Regions from separate parts of the Homo sapiens genome. Here all the other regions are linked to region 3. The links are contacts of gene promoters, found by promoter capture Hi-C in blood cells and fetal thymus (Javierre and others, 2016). All regions are on one chromosome and are shown on one strand. Each heading gives the region's core, a stretch centred on a gene start or on the middle of the fragment in contact. The rest is flanking DNA. Distances are from core to core; before and after follow the strand shown. Region 1 overlaps SIK3 (SIK family kinase 3). Region 2 overlaps SIK3 (SIK family kinase 3). Region 3 holds the start of APOA5 (apolipoprotein A5). Region 4 overlaps SIK3 (SIK family kinase 3). Region 5 overlaps SIK3 (SIK family kinase 3).

The links. Contacts are between HindIII fragments. The CHiCAGO score rates a contact against its expected background, and 5 or more counts as called.
Region 1: a fragment that was not itself captured here is called in contact with the fragment with the promoter of APOA5 in region 3 in 5 of 17 cell types (naive CD8 T cells, non-activated CD4 T cells, total CD8 T cells and 2 more); the score reaches 7.1 in naive CD8 T cells.
Region 2: a fragment that was not itself captured here is called in contact with the fragment with the promoter of APOA5 in region 3 in 1 of 17 cell types (total B cells); the score reaches 5.4 in total B cells.
Region 4: a fragment that was not itself captured here is called in contact with the fragment with the promoter of APOA5 in region 3 in 8 of 17 cell types (naive CD8 T cells, total CD4 T cells, naive CD4 T cells and 5 more); the score reaches 7.9 in naive CD8 T cells.
Region 5: a fragment that was not itself captured here is called in contact with the fragment with the promoter of APOA5 in region 3 in 3 of 17 cell types (naive CD8 T cells, activated CD4 T cells and neutrophils); the score reaches 6.1 in naive CD8 T cells.

What each region holds. Positions count from the first base shown.
Region 1 is chr11:116,928,453-116,931,426 of GRCh38, reverse strand. All of the region lies in intron 3 of SIK3 (SIK family kinase 3), which reads left to right. Among named protein-coding and RNA genes, the nearest start is that of APOA1, 92 kb to the right of the region's middle. The HindIII fragment of the contact is 1,858 bases long and covers 588-2,445 here.
Region 2 is chr11:116,956,485-116,959,637 of GRCh38, reverse strand. SIK3 (SIK family kinase 3) reads left to right here. Exons shown (of 25, transcript NM_001366686.3): 2 at 2,574-2,690. Among named protein-coding and RNA genes, the nearest start is that of APOA1, 120 kb to the right of the region's middle. The HindIII fragment of the contact is 1,562 bases long and covers 616-2,177 here.
Region 3 is chr11:116,790,319-116,793,304 of GRCh38, reverse strand. It overlaps APOA5 (apolipoprotein A5), which reads left to right and starts at 1,426. Exons shown (of 3, transcript NM_001371904.1): 1 at 1,426-1,493; 2 at 1,608-1,719; 3 at 2,238-2,986. The coding sequence starts at 1,445. The HindIII fragment of the contact is 6,000 bases long and covers 492-2,986 here.
Region 4 is chr11:117,033,068-117,036,303 of GRCh38, reverse strand. All of the region lies in intron 1 of SIK3 (SIK family kinase 3), which reads left to right. It also overlaps the pseudogene RPS27P19. Among named protein-coding and RNA genes, the nearest start is that of SIK3, 64 kb to the left of the region's middle. The HindIII fragment of the contact is 1,264 bases long and covers 830-2,093 here.
Region 5 is chr11:117,002,413-117,005,446 of GRCh38, reverse strand. The region is part of intron 1 of SIK3 (SIK family kinase 3); the gene reads left to right. Among named protein-coding and RNA genes, the nearest start is that of SIK3, 94 kb to the left of the region's middle. The HindIII fragment of the contact is 1,556 bases long and covers 571-2,126 here.

The DNA.
Region 1 (2,974 bases), core at 267-2,766, 140 kb before region 3:
CACTATCCCATTAGTGGCATACCTCTGACACTCCATTGAAGCTGGCCTAGGGAAGGTAAGACTGGCTTCTGTGTATTTTTGCTCTTTGAAAGGTCAGAACCTAAATGTACCACAAGATATTTTCTTCCTGAGTAAGATTGGGACAAAATTACAAACAGTGAATTCTGAAGCAAACTTACGTGCTGGTGCTCTAATACTTTAGAAAATTCAAAATCGATTTCCTGTACTTCTAACAATATTACTCTTCGTCGGGTATGTAAATCTCTTAGTGTCACTTACTTCTTTTCATTTTGCAAGGAAGGGCAGACCAAAAAGATTAAAGAAGACCAATGCCAAGTCATGGTCATGGGAAAGTGAGAAAGAGAATTTAAAAGTACTTTTTACTTTTTTTTACTTTGTTTTACTTTTTACTTTTGAAAAGCACTTGAAACAGGAGAACCATTTTTTTTCCTTTTAACCGAGAGTCACCTCATCCCTGTCTGGGTACATGTTTGGAGTGAAATTGTGGTCAAAGAAAACTTTAAATTTGTCCCAGACCTATAATGGCAACTAAATAGATAAGTAGTTGATTGATGGTGAAAAAAGCTTAGTGTGATGGACTTGACTTTATGCAGCAGGTGTCTACTTGAGGTTTGTTTAGATTGGTGGGGGTGGGGAGGGGGCAGGACTCTAGCTAGGGGCATGGCTGCAGTGTGGATGATTGGGATGAGGATATGGGTAGTATTTGTGTCTCAGTATTTAGGAGAGGTAGTTCACTGAATTGCCTGGAAGAAGCAGAACAACTCTGGAGTTCCTTGCAATTGGAGTTTATCCTGACAAGGTTCAACGTACATTTTACTTTGCGTATTGAGTGGATTCAGGAGCCATTTGGTTTCATTTGCCTTCTGAAAGTACTGCAGTATTTGTAAAAATGCTGTGACTATGTGTTAAGTCCAGGCTGGTCTACAGCTCTGGATTTCTTCACTGAAAGTTAAATATCACATTTGAACTTGAAGAATGTTTGCTGCCTGCCTCTAGAGCATATACGAATATAAAGCAGCTATTTGTCAGCAGGCAGCTGAAAGGCGATTTTCAGCAGGGAGTGAAAACCACTGCAGGCTGCTGGCTTCCTGGCACACCCACTAGACCTCGTAGGTTTACAGTGAAAGCAAACCAATGGGAGTAGGGGTTGGGGGGATAAGATGGGCAAAAATCAGGGCAGAGGCTGAGGTCTGAATGCGATTGAGCCACTGGAAGGAGCTTGCATGTGAAGAGCACAGTGCTCCCAAAGAGAAGAAAACTTGAACCCTAAACACAATGGCTAGGAGCAAATATCTAATGTGAACACTTTAAAAAAAAAAAGTGATTTGTTCCGTAAGTGTATTTAGAGTCCAGGGGAAAAAAAAAAGTGATTTGTTTATCTTCTTTGTATCTATAACTATAGGGGTACTGAAGGTAACTTTGGGGAAAGTATTATAGTTTAAGCTGTACTACCCAGTGCGCTGTTACAGCTACCTTTTAACCAGAACCATTAACAGTGACAATCGATGTGTAGAAAATCACCTTTAAGCTCTGCAGAATCCTGAAGGACTTTGTGCTCTATTGACTAGATGTTTAAGTATTCCCTATATAGTATTCAGTGGACCTTTTCAAAAATGTCTTTTGCAACATCTTTGAAAGTGAAAGTTTTAACGTATGATACTCTTAATCAGAGTACACGTTTATTCCCAAATATTCTGTTCTTTCTTTGGGTATAGCATGCAACAGAGTTTACTTGTATTTAGAAGATCAAGAGGTGGGGGTATTGGCAGGATAAATGATTTGTCCAGGGACAACTGATGTGTCACTGTAGAGATAAAACAGAACTAGGCTGCATTCCAGCAGCTTCTGGCCCGTATAACAGTTTTGAGAACTTTCCAATCACTTTAGGAAAACAAGGTACTTAGAAATTTATAAAGACTTTCTTAATAAAAGAAATCACTTATTTTGGAAATTGTGAAATTAATCATTCTGCAGCATTTAAGAAGCACTTTGATGTGTTCTGGTAATTAGTATTTACTGCCAGACAAATGTCTCTTGGGCATTTTAATTAATGGGTAGCTTGGCCAAATGAGCTTCTGATGGTAAACCTTCATAAGGGTTTATTTTTATGTTTCTCAAGAATAGCTGTCTCTTCAAAGCTCTTTAATTAGACAAGGTTTAGCAACTAAAACATATTATTAGAATAATTAGGCCTTGGGTTAAGAGAAATAGGGGGTCAGAGGAGCAGGTACTGTTAGAAAATGGCCTCTTAAAACATAGCATTCTACCTCTGATGGATGGCCAGTTCTTTCACAGCTTCTGTTAAGTTACTCTCCCTAGTTTGGACTTCGTGTTGTTTAAAGTTCATAGCAGACCTCACCGGAAGCCTAAACACACCCGAGTGGGAGCTTACTTATCCCCACCTCTGACCTCCCAGGGAAAGCTTGATTCTAGTCCTTTTAACTGCTAAGTGGAAGACTTCTTATTTTCTCCTTTTTCTTCTATTAAATCGATAATCTTGGCTATAACAATGACTTGTATTTTTGAGGGAGATGCTTCAAAAGCCTTGTGTGTGGCGAACAAAAATTACAATAATTCCTTTGAGGATCTTTCTTAATGATTTATATTATCTACATATAAGATATGTTCTTAAAGTGACTACAGTATTTGCATTCCAGAATGTTATATTTCTTGTGGTCAGAATGCAGTTTGAATTATTTTGCAATCTGCTCTGTAGATGGGCTGGCATCTAACTCCCCTTCTTCAACCTTCTCCCCTACCATTTCTTGCCACAAGCGCTCAGTCTTGGCAGTTATTGCTAGTAAATATGTGCTACCCTGAACTTCCTCTTTGTGGTGAAGGAAAGATACACCTGACTGGTCCTGTGAGGGAGTGAGATGTCACCAAAACAATTGTGTATTCTACCAAAACTGTTGATAAATCACAATATATTTATCTATATTCCCTCATTTTT
Region 2 (3,153 bases), core at 147-2,646, 170 kb before region 3:
GGAGGCCCCACTATATGACTCCCTGTGATCTCTTGGAGGTGAAAGAATGCACAAATTTCATAAGTTAACCTGAAGGTCACCCGCTTTTCCCCAGTTACATTGTACATGCCATCAATTAGTAGGGGGTGGGCAGAGGTGGAAGATTTCAGGCACAGGCCTTAGACAGTTGATGCCCTCTGTTATTAAGGTAAATAAATCCTAGCAGTTCTTCCCACCTTTTGCACATCATGGCATGCACAGAAAGTTGAGATTGGAGGTGATCCATTATTGCTTGTAACCCATTTCCAACACACTTGTTTGGAAGTTCTTTTTTTTTCTTTTGAGACAGGGTCTCATTCTGTTGCTGGCACGATCATAGCTCACTGCAACTTCAGCTCCCGGGATCAAACTGTCCTTCCACCTCAGCCTCCTGAGTAGCTGGGACTACAGACACATGCTACCATGCTCGGCTAATTTTTAAAAAGTTTTTTAGTAGAGATGGGGTTTCACCATATTGCCCATGCTGGTCTTGAACTCCTGGACTCAATCAGTCTGCCCTCCTTGGCCTCCGAAAGTGCTGGGATTACAGCTGTTTGGCAGCTCTGCTATGGGGATATATCTGCAAGTTTCTAAGCTTGTTATATTTATGAAAGCATTCTGTACATTACAAGGTGCCATTCACATGTAAGATTTTATTAATAATGACTATTAAGACCAAGCTATTTGTTCTAGGAAGAGACATTGTGTACCATGATTTTTTTTGTTGTTGTTTTGGGAGCTGTCCTGAGAGAAGCAGGAGCAGATGCTAGACCAGTTGTGGAGTTAAGGTCTTGTATGTGATCTGGTGCAGTAATGAGGAGAAGTAGAAATGCAGGTGGTCAAGGGTTATATTATCCAAGACTTCTTACAGGAAACCAAGCAGCTGGTGAGATCCTCATTAAATTCTCTACCTTCTTCTCTGCCTATCCCAGTTCTCTCTGTAGTGAAATTCTGCTTTCTTTGTCAAGTCTTTCCCAGACTTTTTCTACCTCTTCTCCTGTAGGTGAAGGTCATTCACCATCCTCTGTCTGTTGTTATACCTGGTACATAGCTCCATTGCTTGTACTTCCAATGCTGCATTGTTTTCAGTTCCACACATCTTTTTTCCTTTTTAGACTGTGATCTCCTTGAAGTTTAGGCTGTGTCTGATTAATCCTTGTAGCTCCAGCCACACCCAGCTCCTTTCATCACACTCCCTCGTTAGGCATGGCTTGAATGCTCTTTGAGTACAGCTGAAATTTATCTCCCTGTGCCTTTCTCCCGTGGGTCCTCATTTTAACACCTGAAACAGCTTCAGATAAAGTTACTTTTATGCCAGCCATTTATACATCTGAATAATCTGCCACGTATGGCTCCAAACAGTCTTTATTTCTCTGAGCTAAACATTTTTACTTTTGTAATTTTGTTTTCCTGATTTTTTCCTCAGTAAGTACTGTATATGTTCCCTTTACCTCTCTGGTGCATAGAATCTTAGAATGTTAAGATTTGGAGAGGACTAGAGTTTGACTAGTCTAGGTTCTTCATCTAACCAGTATTGCTTCCATACTGATTACATAATTGAAACTGAGATATAGACATATTTTGGAGCAACACAAATATTTTAAGTATTTCACTGAGGAAGTTTAGATTTAGTAAATTTTTAAAAGTCCTTCATCGTTCATTCTTCATTAAAATGTATTTGCTGATGAGTATCTTATTAAAAGGGGGCACATTGGAAAGATATGTTTTATGATGCAGTGCATGTATGCTAAAGAAAGATCTTCAGATTCTTATAACATTCTTATTAAGAATTTGATTCTAAAGCCAAGCTACCTAGGCTTCAATCCTGCACCTGCCACATACTAGGTGTAAATTACTTAATCTTGGGTTAATTACTTAATCTCTGTGTGCCTCAGTTTCTGTATTTCTAAAGCAAGGTTAATGATAAGGTGGGTGTTAGGAGGTTTAAATGAGTTAGTACTTCCAAACCACTAAGAGTTATGCCTGGCCCATAGTAAACATTTCGTATATGGTAGATGCTGCTACTGCTGCTGCCACCACCATCACTGCTACTATTATTATTATTATTGAGTTCTACAAGCATCTGGTGAGATGTGTAAAGCCCCTGTGAAAGTTCTCATAGAACCTTAGTAAGACACCATGTATTTATGATACAAGCTTCTTGCCTTTTTAAAAATTTTTTATTTTATTTAAAGCTTCTTGTCTTAATGAGAGACCCTGTATACCACTCTGCACTGAAACATGATTTGACCCAGACCGTAACGACATCTATGGAGTAATAAAGTATTTTTTCATAGGATTTTACCGTATAAGCAATTGAAGAAATGGCAGAAGACCCATTAGCTTTTGGAGTCTGTTCCTTTGAGACCAACTTGCTAGGAATCCATTTCCTATCTTTTTAAAAAGAGTAAATTAATTTTCCTCATTGACATTCTGTAAACAGAATACTGGCAGCTTATATTTTATGGAACGTAATGTTTTAAAGTGAACCTAATTTTTCTTAGTAAACTGCTTTTAATAATGCATCAGAGTAATTTTTTTCCCTCTGTTGTCAGGTTGCTATCAAGATCATAGATAAGACCCAGCTGGATGAAGAAAACTTGAAGAAGATTTTCCGGGAAGTTCAAATTATGAAGATGCTTTGCCACCCCCATATCATCAGGCTCTACCAGGTAGGATCATTAGTGTATAGCAGATAGCTGCAAAGAACCCAGAATATTGTATGTATGGCTCCCTTTGAAGAAATGTGGGTGGGTGAACATCTGTGACTTTTTTTGTTTCTATGTTAATCCTGCTATCTTTCCTACCCTTCTGTTTACGCGCTCAGCACTTAGTATCCTCAAGTTTCCCCTGGCCATTTACTAGTACGTTTTCCTTACCCAGGTAGGTCTTTTTAATTTGTTCTTTAAAATTTGATGCCATTCTTAGCAACAACTACACAAAATGTTAATTCAGAAGATGATGAGAATTTATTTTATTTAGTTCAGAGTTCTAACACAGGATGGGAAACTCAAAAAGAAGAGAATTTAGAGAGGTGAAAAGTTAGAGATGAATATAACATTTTTTTAATAGCATTATTTGAATACTAGTTTCTGTGATCATGTTATAAATTGTTATGGCAAAGGACTGCTTCTT
Region 3 (2,986 bases), core at 177-2,676:
GATGAGACTGGAAATGAGTCAGGATGAGCCACAGTGGAGGATGAATTAAATGGGCAGGAGTGTGGTAGAAAGACCTGTTGGAGGCTATGAATGCAATCAAGGTGACAGACAACTGGTGCAATGATGGTAGTGGAAATGGAGGAGAGGGGATTGATTCAAGATGCATTTAGGACCAAGAATCGGGAGCTTGTGAACGTGTGTATGAGTACTGTAGACGGAGTGGGTGTGTCATCAGAGAAGATCTGAGCATTTGGGCTTGCTCTCCTCAGAGGCCCTGCGAGTGGAGTTCAGCTTTTCCTCATGGGGCAAATCTCACTTTCGCTCCAGTTCCTGGGGCTCAGAGTCCCTGGCCCAGATGCCTCTTGCCATCTCATCTTCACCCTGCCTGGCTTCCCTTGCTTGTTCCAGGATTGTTTCATAAAGAGGGATGTGGTTGGTCTTTAACCCTATGAATGCTGGCTGAGGATGCCTGCGGAACCTGTAGTGAAGCTTTCAGGGGCTGCTCGGGTTCTGGCTGGTAGGTGAACACTGTCCATCTTGCCGGCTGGGACACAGTGACTCTGGGTAGTTGTGTAAGAGAGGGGCCCTTGGCAGACAAACAGGTTCTTCTCTGTTGGTGGGCCAGCCAGCAGGTCAGTGGGAAGGTTAAAGGTCATGGGGTTTGGGAGAAACTGGGTGAGGAGTTCAGCCCCATCCCCCGTAAAGCTCCTGGGAAGCACTTCTCTACTGGGGCAGCCCCTGATACCAGGGCACTCATTAACCCTCTGGGTGCCAGGGAAAGGGCAGGAGGTGAGTGCTGGGAGGCAGCTGAGGTCAACTTCTTTTGAACTTCCACGTGGTATTTACTCAGAGCAATTGGTGCCAGAGGCTCAGGGCCCTGGAGTATAAAGCAGAATGTCTGCTCTCTGTGCCCAGACGTGAGCAGGTGAGCAGCTGGGGCAGAGGGATGGGGGTCACAGTCCTAAGGGAGGGCATTGCAGGTGGCCTCAGGGGAGAGCCTGGGGTGGCCCCTAAGACGTCCTCTTGGAACATTTTGGCAGAGTTGCCTCTTCGCCCTCATTATGGCTCAGTTTTTCCACCATGAAATGGGAGGGAGGGAGACAGGTGGGCAGGGGAGAGGTGGTAGAAGTGGCCTAGAGAACTGTTCCTGGGGTCTGGGACCTTTGCGAAGGGGTTAGAGCACCACGCTCCCTGCTATGTGACTGAGGTAGCAAGAGCACGCCCTCTTCCCATGTCTGAGGAAGACACCCTAGCCTCCTTGACTCACCTAGGTCAGTCCTCTTGAGCCCCAACAGCTCTGTGCTCCCCAGCCCAAGGAAGGGGTAACAGGATTTCGGGCAGTTGCCCCTGCAGAGGCCCCCTGGGCAAGTCCCCTGCGCCATGTCCCTTCGTCTCCTTCTTCCCCTAACCAGGCCTCCCTCCACCTGTCTTCTCAGAGCAGGTAATGGCAAGCATGGCTGCCGTGCTCACCTGGGCTCTGGCTCTTCTTTCAGGTGGGTCTCCGACCCTGACTTCAACGTGGGGGTGTGGGTGGAGGCTGGCCAGAGGGCCCTGTCCACCCTGGGGGAGGAGAGCCCAGGCCCTGATTACCTAGTCCCTCTCCACAGCGTTTTCGGCCACCCAGGCACGGAAAGGCTTCTGGGACTACTTCAGCCAGACCAGCGGGGACAAAGGCAGGGTGGAGCAGATCCATCAGCAGAAGATGGCTCGCGAGCCCGCGTGAGTGCCCAGGGGAAGGGGTGTAGGCGAAGGGAGGAGACAGCTGGGCCATGCCATGATGACCTGCCTCTGCTGCCTCAACCTCTGTGGCCGCTGCTGGGACAGAGGAAAGGAGCGGTGCTAGCTCTGTCTGCAGATCCCGGCCATCCTGGGCTCTTTAGCGCCCTCTGCCTGCAGCCCCCGCCTTGACAACTCCGTAGCTGTTGCCCCCTTGCTCACTGAGGCGCGGGACCTGGGATCAATCGGGAGGACGCCCGCTGCAGTCCCCAGAATCAAAGGATGATGTGGCGCATCTATGTTTCTTTGGAGAGTGTTGTAGGTCTGGATTTGTATGGGCAATGTGTTTGTGCTTCGTGCGTGAGTTGTTACTGGCCAGGGCTAGGACAAGAGCCCTCGACCCTGGGGCCAACGCCCTGCGTCCTTGGTTCCCCCAGAGGATCAGTGCGCGATGACTTGGGGACAAAGGAGATGATGGAGGCTAGCAGTCTGACGGCCTGGATATCTGTCCCCTTCTCCAGGACCCTGAAAGACAGCCTTGAGCAAGACCTCAACAATATGAACAAGTTCCTGGAAAAGCTGAGGCCTCTGAGTGGGAGCGAGGCTCCTCGGCTCCCACAGGACCCGGTGGGCATGCGGCGGCAGCTGCAGGAGGAGTTGGAGGAGGTGAAGGCTCGCCTCCAGCCCTACATGGCAGAGGCGCACGAGCTGGTGGGCTGGAATTTGGAGGGCTTGCGGCAGCAACTGAAGCCCTACACGATGGATCTGATGGAGCAGGTGGCCCTGCGCGTGCAGGAGCTGCAGGAGCAGTTGCGCGTGGTGGGGGAAGACACCAAGGCCCAGTTGCTGGGGGGCGTGGACGAGGCTTGGGCTTTGCTGCAGGGACTGCAGAGCCGCGTGGTGCACCACACCGGCCGCTTCAAAGAGCTCTTCCACCCATACGCCGAGAGCCTGGTGAGCGGCATCGGGCGCCACGTGCAGGAGCTGCACCGCAGTGTGGCTCCGCACGCCCCCGCCAGCCCCGCGCGCCTCAGTCGCTGCGTGCAGGTGCTCTCCCGGAAGCTCACGCTCAAGGCCAAGGCCCTGCACGCACGCATCCAGCAGAACCTGGACCAGCTGCGCGAAGAGCTCAGCAGAGCCTTTGCAGGCACTGGGACTGAGGAAGGGGCCGGCCCGGACCCCCAGATGCTCTCCGAGGAGGTGCGCCAGCGACTTCAGGCTTTCCGCCAGGACACCTACCTGCAGATAGCTGCCTTCACTCGCGCCATCG
Region 4 (3,236 bases), core at 212-2,711, 240 kb before region 3:
AACTTTCAGGAAAACACAGGTTACATATTCTTTACGTTACTATGAGAAACTACCTACATTATTTTTTTTTAAATTTTATTTTTGGCTGGGCACATTGGCTCACACCTGCAATCCCAACATTTTGGGAGGCTGAGATGAAAGGATTGCTTGAAGCCAGGAGTTGCAAGACAAGCCTAGGTGACAAAGTGAGACCTTGACTATAAAAAAAAAAAATTAACCTTTCCGGCGGTGATGACCTACCCACACGAGAACATGCCTCTTGCAAAGGGTCTCCTTCATCCCTCTCCAGAAAAGGAGAAGAGGAAACACAAGAAGAAACGCCTGGTGCAGAGCCCCAATTCCTGCTTCATGGATGTGAAATGCCCAGGATGCTATAAAATCATCACGGTCTTTAGCCATGCACAAACGGTAGTTTTGTGTGTTGGCTGCTCCACTGTCCTCTGCCAGCCTACAGGAGGAAAAGCAAGGCTTACAGAAGGATGTTCCTTCAGGAGGAAGCAGCACTAAAAGCACTCTGAATCAAGATGAGTGGGAAACCATCTCAATAAACACATTTTGGATTAAAAAAAAAAATTAAAACAATTAGCCGGGCATGGTGGCATGCACCTGTAGTCCCAGCTACTCTGGAGGCTAAGGTGGGAGGATCGCTTGAGCCTAGGAGCTCAAGGTTACAGTGAGCTATGATCACATCACTGCATTCCAGCCTGGGTGACAATAGCCCTATAATGTAGGTAGTTACTTTTATCTGCATTTTACAAATGAAAAGAACTGACAGACATTGAGTTAAAATAACCAGTACAAAAATCACAGATGGGGGATAGCCAAAGCTTTAAAATGGAATAGCAGGAAGTTTTAATTTGCAAATAGAATCATTAATGTTTAATAGAATCATTAATAGATTTAATAGAATTAATGAATTGATAGAATCATTAATTCATACTTAGTTTGGAGTGATTGTTGAACACATTTCTCAGCTAATTTAGGTCTTCATTATATTTTAGAACATATTATCTGCATCATTAAAAAATTCCTCATTTCCTCATTGCCTATCTCTGCCTTTTATTCACTCAGTTTTAAAATAAACAGATTTTGTTTATACTGCTTCTTTTATTAATATTTATGGTAAGATATTTTATACTGCTGATAAATGGACATTAATGATATATAGCCTATTGTTTGAAAAAAGCATTTTGGATTATAGCCCAGAACTGGAAACAACCAAGAGATAAATAAATGGTGGTATATTCATACAATAAAATATTACTCAGATAAAAAAGTTCAGTTCAAAACTTTCAGTTTTATCATTGCATTATTTGCAGTTGTAAAACATGGTAACATCACAACCTTATGTTACAAAGTTATTAAAAATATTAGCAAGGTACACTGATTGCTGTAGCCATGTTACAATTAAGCTAAAGGAATTTCTTGTTAACCAAAAGCAAAAAATAAGTTTGGTTTTTTTGGATCTTAATTGACTATTTATAATAGAACTTGCCTTTGGGTAGCGAACAGATTCACAAATGAAAGAGGAGATTCTGGAACTTACTGTATAATTCCAGGTAACTCTGTAAAGTTTGAAATGTAAAGACCATGCCTTAATACAATTGATAATTGGAATCGTGCTGGCATCTTCTTAACATCTCTTGCTTGTCTGTGGAGCATGGCATGATTACTTATACATTACTACATTTAGGAAACAGCCTTTATAAGACCCACTTTTTCTGAAGTTTTTGGTGTTACTCTTTTCTTAACCACCAGTACTGATCTCATTATGTTTTGGCCGACTTACTTGAGGGCATGCTAAAAAGTGATCTAAATACTTAATTTCTCCCTTCAATTGTGCATCGTGTTTTACAAATAAACCGTATCTTTACTTTCATTTACTTGCATGTCACTGAGAAAATTTGAGATCTTTAGCATTCATGTCCTTGCCTGAAGTATAAGGATTTCACATAATTTCAGCTTTTATCATTCAAGTCTTATAGATGCTTTTCTCTTGTCTCTGTTTTCAAATAATGGTGCTAATTATATTTAAGGGGCAGTATGTTTATTCAATATAGTTATAGTGTTAGCAGTGTAGGATTTAACAAGCTTTTCCTCTGGAATGTATACTAGTTCTTCATGTTCTATGTGATAACTTATACAGTGCTATGGTATTTTTGTTGTTAGATTTAAGTTTTCTTTGAATTTTTTTTCTGTCCATAATCTTAGGCTTTCTTTTTGTGCTTACTGTTTTTTTCTCCCCCAGAATGATACATGGCAGCGATTATAAATCTGTTTTATAAAACTTAACTTCATTAAACATATGAAGAACGTGGGATTATTTTTCTTGTCATAAAAGGTGACCTCCAGTGACAAATGGCTATTACATTATTTATGTGAGATTCCTTCATTTCATATACTGTTATCAATGTGTTTGATAATGGTTGAAGAACCAGTTGGTGTTGGTTTCTAATACTAATTAATAATTTGCCTTGAGCCTGATCAATCTTCTTATATCCATTATCAGATTTTTTTCTTCAAATCTGAAAATGTTTTCTTTTCTTTTCCTTTTCTTTTTTTTTCTTTTCTTTTCTTTCTTTTTTTTTTTTTTTTAGACGGAGTCTCGCTCTTTCCCCCCAGACTGGAGTGCAGTGGCGCAATCTCTGCTCACTGCAAGCTCCGCCTCCTGGCTTCACACCATTCTCCTGCCTCAGCCTCCTGAGTAGCTGAGACTACAGGCGCCCACCACGACGCCTGGCTAATTTTTTTTTGTTTTGTATTTTTAGTAGAGACGAGGTTTCACTGAGTTAGCCAGGATGGTCTTGATCTCTTGACCTCGTGATCCACCTGCCTTGGCCTCCCAAAGTGCTGGAATTACAGGTGTGAGCCACTGCACCCAGCTATTTTTTCTATATTTTTATGTAGTTCATTGAGGGTAATAATTTTATCCTACAACAAACATGTAAGTTATTGAAGAATATTGGAGTTTTATGATAATGCTGTCATAAATATAAAAGGTAGGGTAAGAGGGATCCAAATAGAGCTCACTTATATTGTCACTGATAGGCAGTCACGCTGTGCTGATAGAATGTGGCCTGACACTTGATGGAGTGCAGCATATGTATACTTGGGCAATTTGAGCAGATATATACGGTCCCGAGTTTAAAGAAGAGAACAAACACCAGTGCACAGCTATAGTATTCCTAATATAGGATGCATTTTAAAGAATTTCACATTCTACAAATGGAGAGAGA
Region 5 (3,034 bases), core at 99-2,598, 210 kb before region 3:
TTATAGTCCTGTATTTGCAAAAACACCTCCCACCTCCATGCTTTCCTTTTACCATTTAAAAATGTTTGTGAAGATCTTTTTTATCTTTTTTTTTTTTTTTTTTTTTTTTTCTGAGACGGGGTCTCGCTCTGTCACCAGGCTAGAGTGCAGTGGTGCGATCTCGGCTCACTGCAGCCTTCACCTCCTGGGTTGGCCAGGCTGGTCTCGAACTCCTGACCTCAGGTGATCTGCCCGCCTCAGCCTCCCAAAGTGCTGGGATTACAGGTGTGAGCCACCATGCCCAGCCCACATTTTGTTTTTATATTCTGAGTATTATATAGTAAAAAAGGAGAAGAGTTCATTGATACAGTCTTTTAAAAACTGATCTCAATGATATAGTAGGAAAAACACTGGATTAGGAGATAGGGGTTTTAAGTTCTAATCCTGCCTGGCTGTGCCCTTAACTAGCTGTATGAGACTAGGCAACATTTACCATTTCCTTCCCAATTAAATTGAGGTAGCCGTACTAGATTTATCTAACATGCCTTTCATTGCTCACATCATGCGACATTAAGCTTTAATTAGAAAGCTTTGGTTTTGGGACCTCTTTGTTTTCCCATAGGCTTTAACCTTGTTTCCTTTCTTATTGCCCAGCAGGAATTGGACTAGAGTTGGCCAAAGGTGGGATGAGGAGAAGAGGTAGGAATCTTACAAGAGTTGGTTGGAGTAAAGTTATTGACAGGTGGGAAGAAGTATTCCTGTGACTCTGTGGTTGTTCCCTTGTAAGATTTGAAGGAAAGTAATGAGTCAGGTCTTAATAATAGTGCCTCTATGTTATTTCCTCCACCCCATTATCTTTTGTCAGAATTGATTAGCAAAATGCACTTACCCAAGTATTTTCAGGGTCCCTGTTTGGATAGTCTAAATAACGTTGTTCTTTTTTTTTGTTTTGGAGACAGGGTCTCACTTTGTCACCCAGGCTGGAGTGCAGTGGCACAATCTTGGCTTACTGCAGCCTCGACCTTCTGGGCTCAAGCAATCCTCCCACCTCATCCTCCTGAGTAGCTGGGACCACAGGTGTGCACCATCACGCCTGGCTAATTTTTTGTATTTTTTGTAGAGATGGGGTTTCACCATGTTGCCCAGGCTGGTCTCAAACTCCTGGGCTCAAGCGATCTGCCCACCTCGGCCTCGCAACATGCTGGGATTACAGGTGTGAGCCACTGCTCCCTGCCTTTAGTTACCTTTATCAACCTATGGTCCTAAAGGTAGATTCATTGAACTTGCCTGTCAGTGCTTAAGGATCAGTCCTGTCTTAGTTCAGACAAGTTAAATTCAGGGTTGCATTCTGTCAACTTTGTTTCTAATCAGTGGATGATCAGATGATATTTGGAGAGGATTTTTAATATATGTGAATCTTATGGTGGCATTCTGTTACTTAATAAATACTTTAATTTCTTAGCTTTTTTCCCCATATTCTCCATAATTTTTGTAGATAGATGCTCAGACGAAGGCAGCAGTAGCACATGGATAATCAGAGTTTTTTGTTTGTTTGTTTTAACATTTCTCGTTAAAGTATAATGTTCAGCAATGGGGACCAATCTATACTCCTCATCTGTAGTCTGTCAATAAATAGGTTGCTCCGACTTTAAATTCTCAGCTTGAATTGTTTCTTTTTTGTGTGTGGAATTTATGACCCTCTGTGATGTTGACCCTACCTAAAGCAAGTAGAATAGCTACACCAGCAAAATGAAATACCATAACAACAACGTATGCTTATGTTTATATAGTGCTTACTGTGTGCCTGGCATGGCATTGAATAAATATATATATTTAATAAATAGAGTTGGGGTCTCGCTTTGTTGCCTACCTTGTGTTGAACTCCTGGCCTCAAGTGATCCTTCTGCCTCCGCCCCGTCAAAGTGCTAGGATTACAGGCATGAGCCACTGCTCCCAGCCAGCATTGAATATATTTTTTTTTTTATTTCATCCTGAGAACAACCTTATGAGGTACTTTCAGGTCATACTTTTATTACCCTCATTTTATACTAGAAAAATTGTGCTTTAAGATGTTAAGCAAATTGCCCAAAGTGCAAAACCAGTGTGTTGGAGCTTGAATTCCAAACCAGATCTGCCTGAGTCAAGCTTTTCTTTTATGTTCTTATTTACTAAAGGCTTCTTGAACAGAAGTATGTGAGAGTTGGGCACATGCAGCTTGGTCAATTCTATGTAAACCCGGTCAGATTCTGAGTAGTGTAGATCTGATAAAGTCAATGTGAATTTCTTATCATTCGTTGCAAGAGACTTAATGTAGCAAAAATCAGTATCATAGGAAACGAGATGTTACTGTGGTAGGCACACTGTTCTCTCTCAGCTACCTCATTTTTGTTGTTATTGGTGGTGGCTATTGCTCTGGCAACTACAAAGGCAGCATTTACTTGACACGGCGTGTATGCTTAAGGCAGAACACTGACTGCTTTTCATTGCTGGCAAATCCGGACTTCATCAGTACTGGCTACCTGTAAGGAATGTGAGCATGTTGGATTTTAGAACAGGAAAAACACAACTTCCACCTCATTTCACAGTAGAGTTCACTTAGGGATACAGACTTTTTGGTGACAGTAACTGTTACTTTCTGCTTATTAATTCAGATACTTGCATAATGCTAACCTGGTAGATATTGTCAGATGACAAGCCTTCCTCCTACATGTTCTCTATAAAAGAACTGCTAGTGACAAGCATTTTATTATATTAAAAATTCTACTTCATACTGTTTTAAGTTAAAATGTATTTATTATGAAGCCAATATTGTGAAATGTTTTTTTCTTTTTCCAGAATGTGGTTTTTTTTTCTTGTAATGGACTAAGATGCAGGCTTATTGTGTAGAATGAGGAGCTATTGCCCAGATGGACCTTAGTGAAAGTAACTTAAATAAGCAAGTAGATTTTGCTTCTGTTTGGGAAAATGATCTAAGACGGATGCTGGTATTTTGGGCAGGTGGAGACTAATGTTTTATCTCAATGTTTGCAACTTAAGTTCAGCCTACTTAAGGGCT